4 separate regions of the Homo sapiens genome follow, and regions 1, 2 and 3 are each linked to region 4. Evidence: promoter capture Hi-C in 16 types of primary human blood cells and fetal thymus (Javierre and others, 2016). All regions are on one chromosome and are shown on one strand. Each heading gives the region's core, a stretch centred on a gene start or on the middle of the fragment in contact. The rest is flanking DNA. Distances are from core to core; before and after follow the strand shown. Region 1 has its middle 190 kb from the start of LINC02461. Region 2 has its middle 170 kb from the start of LINC02461. Region 3 has its middle 110 kb from the start of LINC02461. Region 4 holds the start of PRICKLE1 (prickle planar cell polarity protein 1).

Region 1 (2,700 bases), core at 43-2,542, 750 kb after region 4:
AGAAGTCTTCCAGCTATTTTGCTCTCTTTTTCATGGTAAGAGCTGTAAGATACGAAGGTTTGATTTTTATCAGGACAGGATGTCCCAGCAGAGCTCTGATCACTAAAATCCCTAAACTCATAGGTTTCTGTCAGGTTTCTGACATTTTTATGGGGTTTATCTCCCCTCCTCTGCAGTGGGTATGTTTTATTTAACAAGACCTCCATCATCCACTTCTTGCTCATCTAATCCAGTCTACATATAACCATCAATGTAATGGATCAATGTGATGATCAAAGATGACCACATGATCCATATTTCTTTGGAGTATGACTGTCACAGAAGATGAGAAAATTAATACAGTCTTGAGGTGAAGCATAATTGTAAATGTAACTTTTTGGGTCCAATCCATGTGATTATTAACTATTTCTAATCTTCTTTCCTTTTGGGGATAGAAAAGAACAAATTTGGTAAATCAGTGGCTGCAGACCATGTGTCTGAGGTCATATTAATCTGTTATAGCAAAGATACCACTTCTGCCACCAAGACTGTGTTGACAATTACTATTTGGTTGAGTTTGTGGTAGGCTATAGTCATCTTCTAGGATTCATCCAGTTTCTTCAGCATACAAACTGGTGAATTAAATGGAAATAAGATGGGAAACACTATCCCCGGAACCTGGATTCATTAGATCCTTAAGGGCACTAATCTCTGCCATCCTCCCTCAATATCACTACCTCCACAATGTGATAAGACTTCCAGACTGGGTGTGAGATTTGGAGACCTCCATCTTCCCTACTATGACAAATCTCACCCCACAGGCCAAGGACCCAATGTGAAATTGTACCAACTGCCATGTGTTTCAATCCCAGTTGTACCTTCAGATTAGAGGAATGATCACCAGGTGGACCTATGGATCTATGGACCTAGCGAACCCCATATAAATCAGAACATAGCCAGGATTCCATTTATTATCTGGACCCCATCCTAATGGTTATGATGACATTTCATGTCTCCAGATGTAAGTATTATCTCAGACACAGTATCTAATGGTCTCTGAAATGCATAGACGTTCCCATTTCCTTAGTGCACAATATCTGAGTAAATGTCCATAGATGTTTCAGAGGAAGGATTGGGAAAACTATTAGCATATAAATTCACTGGGGTTTGGCAGTCTTTCCTCCTGGGGACCAAGCCACTCCTCAGTCAATGGGTGTTGAGTCTGAAAATTGCCTCAAGTCCAAAAATTTGGCAAAGAATGACTGTGCTTGGCCTCTTTTGATGTCTTCTACTGGTAGACGCTGAGTAATGCCCTTGTTGACTCCCCTCATATTTTGACCCTTTAGATAACGTGTTCTGTTGACTATCTCCATAACTCTCAGCAGGGCAGGCCCCCTCAAATGCCACTTCTCCAGCTTCTGCCAGTACATGTTGGCTAGGTCTTGCAGCTCCTTTGGGAAATATCTCTTTTCCTTTGTTATAAAGCCCAGTAAGTCCCTAGCTGGGTCATGCTGTGACTTAATCCTACTTATAGGTCCAGTGTCCTAGTGCCCAGGAGGAGAGGGAAGGGCAGATCCAGAAAGAGGTACCTAAAACTTTGTGGAAGAGGGGCCTCTGCATCATCTTCCAGAATGCAGGGTGTACTGGTTCATACTAGGGAGAGGCTGGCCATTCCTGTAGGCTCAGAAAGTTCAGAAGTCTTTCAGTTCAAAACATCTGGAGGAATATCAGGCCAGATGATTCTCTTCATGTGTCCCAGGGTTTCCCAAACAGGTCCTATCCTTAGTTTGTCTTCTTTTTGCTTCCTTTTGTTGCTAACATTGATCTTACAAGCTGTGATCGTGTTTTGCTTTTATTTAAAATTACAAAATATACTGAGTCTTTCTCCAACCTACAAGTTGTTTGGAAGTTTTGTTTTTAATATCCAAATTAAATTTTCTGACACCATTACATTTTCACATTTTTTCTTGTAGTTCTGTCCATTTTTACTTTTTATATTTTGAAGCTATGAGTTTGGGTGCGTGGGTTCAGGATTGCCCTAAGTTTCTGATAAATATTTTCTCTGGTTGTGTCAGAGGCATTTGAACCAGAGTGACTCCATCTTGAATAGGGGCTGTGTAAAATAAGACTGAGACCTATTGGGCTGCATTCCCAGGAGGCTAGGCATTCTTAATTACAGGATGAGATAGGAAGTTGGCACAAGATACAGGTCACAAAGATCTTGCTTATAAAACAGGTCGTGGTAAAGAAGCCGGCCAAAACCCCCCAAAACCAAGAGGGCAATGAAAGTAACCTCTGGTCATCCTCACTCCTCATTATATGCTAATTATAATGCATTAGCATACTGAAAGACACTCCCATCAACAACATGACAGTTTACAAATGCCATGGCAACATCAGGAAGTTACCCTACATGGTCTAAAAAGGGGAGGAACCCTCAGTTCCAGGAATTGCGCACCCCTTTCCTAGAAAACTCATGAATAATCTACCCTTTGTTAAGCATATAATGAAAAAATAAAGTATTCTTACACAAGCAGCCCATGCTGCTGCTCTGCCTATGGAGTAGCCATTTTTTATTCCTTTACTTTCCTAATAAACTTGTTTTCACTTTACTCTATGGACTCACCCCAAATTGTTTCTTGGGCAAGGTCCAAGAACCCTCTCTTGGGGTCTGGATCAGGACACTTTTTCAGTAATAGTTGTTTGTAATAACTGTCTTTA
Region 2 (2,700 bases), core at 57-2,556, 730 kb after region 4:
AATTGCTTGAACCCGGGAGGTGGAGGTTGCGGTGAGCCGAGATCGTGCCAATGCGCTACAGCCTGGGCAACAAGAGCGAAATTCCTTCTCAAAAAATAATAAATAAATAAATAACATAAAAAATGTCCTAAGTCAGTTTTAAAACTTACAATCACAGAGAAAGCAAGTGAAAAAAAAAATCCATATATTCACATGCTTTGTTCCTAAATTCATGATACAATAAAGGTAAAGAACAAAACATGAGAAGGAAATGAGTGGACAGAAGGTGGGACATTGAATTAGCTACTTTATATGTTCCATTAATGCACTCGGTGAAAAAAATTAATATAATACATTGTCAATTTGTAAATGATATCGATATTTGTTAACCAGGCTTAGAAGCTCTTTTTGGAATGTGTCATATTAGCCATGACAATAACAAGAACAGCTACATATCATTAAGCTTTTAATATATGCCAGATGCAACATGTAGAAAGATTACATTATAAAATAAATATAGTAGAATTTTCCTGATAACCCAGTAAGGCAGATTTTTGTGGAGTTTTTGTTTGTTTGGTTTTTGTTGTTGTTGTTGCTACTGCTTCATCTCATGGTTTGGAAAATGGAAGTTTAGAGAGGTGAATAAAAATTTCCAAGGTTACCAACTAATAAGTGGCAGATCCAAACCCAGACCTTTTTGATTAAAATGGACAGTTGTCAAATTTAACAAATATAGATACAGGACATCCAGTTGTTCGAATTTCAGATGAACAACAAATAATTGTTCGGCATAAGTACGTCCCATGCAATCTTTGGAACACACATATACTAAACAATTATTTGTTGTTTACCTGAAATTCATATTTGTCTGAGTATCCTGTGTTTTGACTGGCAATCCAACTCTAAAGCTGATCAAGTTTCTTAACTCTCCGCTATTCTGACTCTGAAAAACCAGCAAGTCTGACCCAGGACGAAGCAGAAAACAGCCACCACATAGTTTGCTTTCTGGACAAGTAAAGATCAGTGATCACTGTCTAGCTGCCCTTTCAGCGTCATCCAATAGTTCAAACGTTCTCAATCTTAAGAGAGTATAAATATCACCAAGGGTGCTTCTTGAAAATGCAGATTCCCTGCCAGGGCCTTTGGCTAGGCCTAGATGTGTACATTTTTAACAAGAACCCCAGACGTTTCTATGTAGATGGTTCTTGGCCTATTCCCTGAGAAACGCTGGAACATCTGGCCTGCTGAAGAAAAATGTAATCCCATTTGAAAAAGTGCTAGACAAACTAAAAATCATTTTAGGGATTTATGTGGGCTACCAAATGAGGTCTGACCAAAATGATTAGAAATGCAGTCTGGAAAAATATAGGCTGAGAAAAGATCCAGTTGAACATTATATTGTCATGATCCAGAGATCAGAAATATTTTTTAAAGTGGGGTACCCAATTAAATCCAAGGCATATTTGACAGTCTACTACTGTTCTTCTGGACATTGGCCAAGGGAATTAAAGGCTGATTTCCTTGAAAATGCTAGATACATTAAATTTTAATATTTCCTTTTTTCCCTCGTAGGTTACTCATTTTCAATGCAAAGCCTACTCTCTACTAATCAGGCTGGTCATTTAGGGTATAGATGATTCAATCATTATGCCCTTCTTCTAAATTATGTTAGCCTACTGATCTTTAGAACCTTTGTGTAGACTAAGACATTAAAATCAGAATCAATTTGAGTAAATTAGTGTAACTAAACGCTTTTCACCTAAATGCTATATAAGAGTTCAAATCCTAAGAAATCTTATAATGATACAGCTCAGTTACTTTGTAATTTTACCTCACCACATTTTTTTACAGACAGGGTCTTGCTATGTTGCCCAGGCTGGTATCACACTCCTGAGCTCAATGGACTCTCCCACTCATGAGTAGCTGGGACTACAGGCTCATGCCACTACGCCCAACTCTTTATCTCTCCTTATTCTTTCTAATGTTACCTATAACCATTTTGGTATCTGGATTCTTAACTGTTACACTCTATTTCCTTACCTTATATGTCCACAGCATTTAAAAATCTGTTATTTCAGTAACAAGATGACTATTTAAAAAAAAATTCACATCAGCAACAATCCTACCATTCCTAATTTGCTGTTTTATGCCTCCTAGGAAGAACAGAAGGCCATCAGTAGATAATAACTGACCAAGCTTTTAAAAGTTATTGAATCATCTTCATTTTACATATTATACAAATGATTTTCCCAAAGTTTCTGTTTGTATGCTGAAATACCACATCAAATAGGTTTGGATCTGCAGTAAATATCAGAGCCATGCCTCAAGTAAATAGGCATAGTGAATCTTCAGAGGGATTATTAGGTAAGTGTATTAGTCTGTTCTCATGCTGCTAATAAAGACATACCCAAGACTGGGTAACTTATAAAGAAAAAGAGGTTTAATGGATTTACAGTTTCATATGGCTAGAGAGGCGTGACAATCATGGCAGAAAGCAAAGGAGAAGCAAAGGCATGTCTCGCATGGCAGCAGGCATGTCTCGCATGTGTGCAGGGGAACTGCCCTTTATAAAATCATCAGATCTCGTGAGGCTTATTCACTATCATGAGAACAGCATGGAAAAAACCTGCCCCCATGACTTAATTACCTCCCATTAGGTCCCTCCCAAGACACATGGGGATAATGGAAGCTACAATTCGAGATGAGATTTGGGTGGGGACA
Region 3 (2,700 bases), core at 108-2,607, 680 kb after region 4:
AGCGGTTACATGACTAAATGCATTCATCAAAACCTATTCAAATGTACATTTTAAAGTGTTGGATTTTATTGTATGTAAACTATAACTGAATAAAGCTGATATTTTTAAAGTAGAAAGAAGGCAAAATAAAGACACGTTTGAGCAAAAAAAAAAAAAAATCCTGTGAAGTCAGTGTTATTCTAAATAGAGCATGAAGAGCTTGAGCAAATTTACACAGAACCACAGCAATGAAGGCAAGCCTAGGAAATAAGGACAATAAACTAATATATGTATTAATTTTTAATAAATTCACAAAATATTTATTTAGTAGCTACCATGTCTGTACAGCATTGAGCAAACTAATTGAGATATAATAATTATTTAATCATGGCATTTATCTTCCTGCACCTCAAACTGTAGTTAAAAGATAGACCCATAAATAAGTAATTATTGTGGCATGAGGGTGGATGTTGAAAATATTTTGAAAGTGCTGTGTGAGTATAGTGGACAGAGCTGGGATTTGACTTTAGCCTAAGCCCCATCTTAGTAGGTAACTCAATAAATATTTAGTAATCTGTTGATTGAATTCGAATGCTCTTGATTGAGTATATGCCCTATATCTAGCACTGTCCATGTAGTTGCTTAGAGGAATTTGCCCCCTTGAAGCACTAAATTTTTGGTAAATATTTCATTTTCTCTGAAATTATTTGGAACTCCTGTTATTAAAAATGTTACCCTTATCTCTCACTTAGTTAGACAGTATGAACAGGAAATGAAAATGGAAATAAGATGCAAGATAATTGTTTTACTCTTGAATGTAAATATCTCAGTTTGCCTTGGCCTTTTGCAACTAGCAGTTGGCCACTGTGATAACATTGTTTGGTTGGCATTATCGCTCAGTTTCCTTCCTTGGAGAGAACGTTATGCGGATTGGCTGCAGCTGTGCTCCATCAGATTCTTTTCTTCTAGGCTCCAGGGCCCTTTGACCACTGCTCCTAATTCTCCTCCCTTCCTGCTCAAGTGTATTTCATCTACAATGCATTTAATGTGGAGTTTGACAACTTCTTTTTTCCTGAAAGAAGTATAAGTGCTTTTCTCTTTATGAAATATTTTTCATAGATTAATTGCTTCCTCTTTTATTACAAAATTTCTTGGAATGTCAAATGTATTGAGGAGCACAAGGTCTTTAACTCCCTTTGTCCCAGAGAAGTAAGATTCCCAGCAGACTGCAGATTCTTCCCAAAGTACTGTGGAGGCTTTGGCAAAAAGTGAACATTTCTCAAGTAGTTAAGTGATAATTCAGCAATTCTCATAGAAAATAAGACTCCAGTATTTTTAAAATCTATATTTTAACCATGAAATGTGTTCATCTTCCTCACAAAGATGGTATAGAAAGATACTTTTGAAGCTAGCAATCTTTCTTCTCTTCAAGTGAAATTATGGTGAACCATGTAAGTAAAGTTTATTTGTATATTTCTGACTATTGGTAAATAAAATTAAATGCACACACACATTTATCTTTCAAAGGAATAGCTTCATAACTTTAGTTACAAATACAATTGCAGCTCTTTTTAAATTTATTTATTTTTTTTCCTGCACTATTAGCAGATAGTCCAGTATGCGACCCATGTCCTAAAGGTCTATACTCTCTAGGTATTGTTATAAAGGGCTCTTGCTCCATTTTACTCACAGCAGGAGAAGATAATACCAATTTGATCAAGTCACAATTTTATTGTTTCTCACTGCCATGTGCTATTTTATTCTCCCAAACATCCTGACAGATAGTGCCTGTGCTCTGCTGTGAGAGGTGATTCCATTTCCTTATAGTATAATTGGTAAAGAGTGCCCCACACATGATCTCCTAAGGGTACAGCTTTAAGCACTCATCACTTTTAGTTCAAATTTCTAGCAGCTACCTCCCCATAAACCTAGAATCCTCATATTCCTTTTCTCCCTGGCAACCACATGCATTCTGCTAGAGCTACTTATAATCAGAACTATTAGAATTCCCTTTCAAAGGGACACTCCACTCAGCACTCCCAGAATGATTTCCTGTCCTCACCTGCACCTTGAGATTGCTGGCAACTTTTCTTGTTAAAACAGAGAAATGGACATTGGGAGGCCGAGGCAGGTGGATCGCCTGAGGTTAGGAGTTCGAGACCTGCCTGGCCAACATAGTGAAACCCGTCTCTACTAAAAATACAAAAAATTAGCCAGGCGTAGTGGTGGGTGCCTGTAAGCCCAGCTACTTGGGAAGCTGAGGCAGGAGAATCGCTTGAACCTGGGAGGCAGAGGTTGCAGTGAGCTGAGATCACACCATTGCACTCCAGCCTGGGTGACAGAGCGAGACTCCATCTCAAAAAAGAAAAAAAAAAAAAAGAAACACACACACACAAATTTAATCTCTGGTAGAACAATGCCTTTGATGGGCTATCTCATTATTTGTAAATGTGGTGGTATTATATATGTATGTATATGTATCTATGTACAGTTAGCTCTCGTATCCACAGGTTCAACCATGGATTTAATTGAATCACAAATAGAATACATTCAACAAATAATAATCAAATAACAATACAATAACAAACGATAAAAGTTTAAAAACAGTACAGTATGACTATTTACATAGCATTTACATTGTATTAGGTATTGTATATCATCTAGAGATGATTTAAAGTATATGGGAGGATGTCCATAGGCTACATGTAAATATTACATCAT
Region 4 (2,817 bases), core at 303-2,802:
CAGTCTACACCTTGGGCCTGTCTGAAAAGACAGATGGAAGTTCCCTCTACTCCTAAAGTACATTAAAAAATGTCTGATGGTGAACCACATCAATTATATAACATCAACTGCAGGCACAGCCTTCCAAAGTACTGATTAAGACGAGGCAGTAGACAACACTGTATGCATGAACAGATACAAGATACCATTTCAGTGATTTGTCATTCATAAAACTTATCCTAAAAGACACATATACATGCATCCATTTGATAGCACAAATGCATGTTAACTCTGCAGGAGAGGCAGATTTTTACATGTTTTTTTGGTTGTAGTTGTTGGTGCTTTTTTTTTTTCCTTTAGGCTGGTTCCCGTGGTGTGTTTGCCTTGTTCATGGTCTCAGTTCTGCCGCTGATACCCTTTTAAAAATCAGCAACCAAACGCGTTCGGCTTGTGATCCTGAACCCTCCTTAGGCAAGCTGGAACTAAGCGTGATGCAGCCGTCCTCCCTCTCTCCCAACCCCCAACCTCGTTCTTCAGCCTCCTGAAGACAATCTGTGAACAATTTTCCCAAAGTCCCAAGAATAACACAGCACTGCCAATAGTCACTGGCGATGCCGTTTGTTTTTCTTAGAGGGTAATGAAAATTTAACAGCTTTCTGCTGCATCCTGAGTCCCGCTCCTAATAACTATTAACATGCCTAGTTTCTTCAACTTTTTCTACCTCAAGAGAGGAAGACGCTCCCATTTTTTCCCTATATCTGTGCTACATTCAGCAAACACCATCGCGGGGCAGGGGGTTGGGGAGAGTGGTGGGAGTTGATTCGCCTCTGCCAAAAAGCCACCAGCCCCTTTCCCCAGCGCTAGAGGAGAGAATCGGTACCCTCCCTCCGGACGCCAGTAGGTGACAGGCGATCCTAAGCGGCGGGAACACGCCAACGCACCCTCGCCTCCCGGCGCCCCGCATCGCCTCGACCCTCGGGCTACAGAACCTGTTTCCACGCCGGAGAAAACCAAGGGAAGAGTTGGTTGTGATGCAGCAAACAGGAGCCATGCGGAGAGCCTCTGCGGAGCCCTGGCGATGCTGCAGCCAATATCTGCTTTCCCTGTCTACACAGCCCAACAAACCGATTATGACCTTCTCCCTGATCTTCTGCGACACCGACCCAGTCTGGGTGTCACAGACTCCGGCGGTGCCAGCGAAGGTGCCCGGCCCTACCCCTGCGGCGCTCGCCCCCCACCACCGCGCCGCAGCCCCCTCTGCGGAATCCGCCGGGATCCAGGCTGCCACTCACCTCGCGCGAGGGAGACGCAACTCGGCTGCACTGTCCTCGGCGCCGCTGCGGGGCTGCTGGGCTGCGGGGCTGCGGGGCTGAGGAGCTGCGGTCCGCGGCGTCAGGGGTGGGCGAGGGTGAGCAGCGCACGAACCATCCAGAGCCCAGAAAGTCTCCGTGCCGACCGCGGCGCGTCTCGGGGAAGTCAGCGCAGGCTGCGCGAGGCTGGCATGTTCCGGGCGCGCTGTCGGGCGGCGGCGGCCGCGGGAGACGGCGCTGGCAGCTGGGCTGCAGGCGGAGTGCGCTCGGGCTCCGGAGCCGCGCGCTGCGGCGCCGCCGCGCACCCCGCCCTCGGCCGCGGGGCCCGGCGCGAGCGAAAACGCGGAGCGCGGACGCCGCCGCGGGATCGAGGCCGCTGGGCGCGCGCCCACGCGTACCCCGGCTCGGCCCTGAAAGCGAGGTCGGGCCCGGCTCGGGCCGCGCCCGGGGGCAGGGCTGCGAGCAGGCCTGGGACCGGCTCCACGCGCAGCCAGTGGGGCAGAGCAGCAGGCGGATTATGCGCAGGGAGAAAAAAGTTCACCAACCGCGGTCCAGAGTCGCAAGTGCGGCTCGCTCGGAGCCTCTGCCCCGCCCCCGATTATAAGCCTTTTTTTTTTTTTTTTTTTAACCAACAATCCCGATGGACTGAAACACAGGAAGAGTGAAGGGACGGGGTGGGGGGTGGGGGAGAGACAAACCCAATTTCCTCTGATCAAACGATTTGGGTAGGGGTGCCTATTTGAGTTCCTTCTCCTTCGGGGGGTGTGTGAAGGGGGCAGTTAATTAAACACTTAGATTCCTTCCGGCGCGCCTTGCCGAGCTGGGGACCCGTTTGGACTCGATCCTGTCTCGTGTAATCCCACAGGCTGGTCTGAGTCTCTGCCCCGGAACCGGAGGAGTGATCTTTCAGAGCAAGAAGCCAAAGTTCAGCCTCTAGTCCGTTCCCTTCCCCGCCTCGACGGCCCTGGTCGTCTCCATGAAAACTCAGTGTGGGGGATCGTGCCCGCGAAAACCTCAGCCCACCGCAATGTCCAGAGCCTGACCCAAGTGAACGTGGCGCACTTAAAAGCGGGTTCAAAGCATTGATCCGAACACGGTGACAATTTTTCACTGGCCAAACTACTCTCCACATTTTCAGTCTGCTCAATTCCCAGAGCTGGGCTCTCAGGCGCACTCACCCACGTTGAACTGGGGCTCAGCCTGTTTGAAAGTTCTGCCCTGACATTTGTGTCACACTAAACCTTAGAACCCCCCACCCTCTCCAGTTCCGGATCGGTGGAGTCTCACCGTGTGGGTACTATTTCCCTGGACTGCAGAGGGCAGACACAGGCGGCAGCTGTTAACCCGAACTTGACAGGTGCCTCTGCAAAGCCAGGGCTTCCTTGACCTCTCCATCCTCTCCACAACGCTCTAGGATACTGTATCATCTTCCAGGAAGATGAGGATGTGTGTGGGGGGAGTGTGGAGGGAGGTGTTGACTGATGCAATTTTTATCCTTTTAAGAAAAATCAAAACTGCCAGTCTCAGA

The links. Contacts are between HindIII fragments. The CHiCAGO score rates a contact against its expected background, and 5 or more counts as called.
Region 1: a fragment that was not itself captured here is called in contact with the fragment with the promoter of PRICKLE1 in region 4 in 4 of 17 cell types (megakaryocytes, M1 macrophages, M0 macrophages and 1 more); the score reaches 11.5 in megakaryocytes.
Region 2: a contact is called between a fragment that was not itself captured here and the fragment with the promoter of PRICKLE1 in region 4, in 1 of 17 cell types (M0 macrophages). The highest score is 5.5, in M0 macrophages.
Region 3: a fragment that was not itself captured here is called in contact with the fragment with the promoter of PRICKLE1 in region 4 in 1 of 17 cell types (megakaryocytes); the score reaches 5.4 in megakaryocytes.

What each region holds. Positions count from the first base shown.
Region 1 is chr12:43,339,628-43,342,327 of GRCh38, forward strand. No RefSeq gene overlaps it. Among named protein-coding and RNA genes, the nearest start is that of LINC02461, 190 kb to the left of the region's middle. The HindIII fragment of the contact is 3,677 bases long and covers 1-2,700 here.
Region 2 is chr12:43,319,294-43,321,993 of GRCh38, forward strand. No RefSeq gene overlaps it. Among named protein-coding and RNA genes, the nearest start is that of LINC02461, 170 kb to the left of the region's middle. The HindIII fragment of the contact is 1,733 bases long and covers 441-2,173 here.
Region 3 is chr12:43,267,104-43,269,803 of GRCh38, forward strand. No RefSeq gene overlaps it. Among named protein-coding and RNA genes, the nearest start is that of LINC02461, 110 kb to the left of the region's middle. The HindIII fragment of the contact is 4,161 bases long and covers 1-2,700 here.
Region 4 is chr12:42,588,194-42,591,010 of GRCh38, forward strand. PRICKLE1 (prickle planar cell polarity protein 1) reads right to left here and starts at 1,553. Exons shown (of 8, transcript NM_153026.3): 1 at 1,272-1,553. RefSeq lists a silencer at 1,557-1,806 and an enhancer at 2,276-2,817. The HindIII fragment of the contact is 6,666 bases long and covers 1-2,817 here.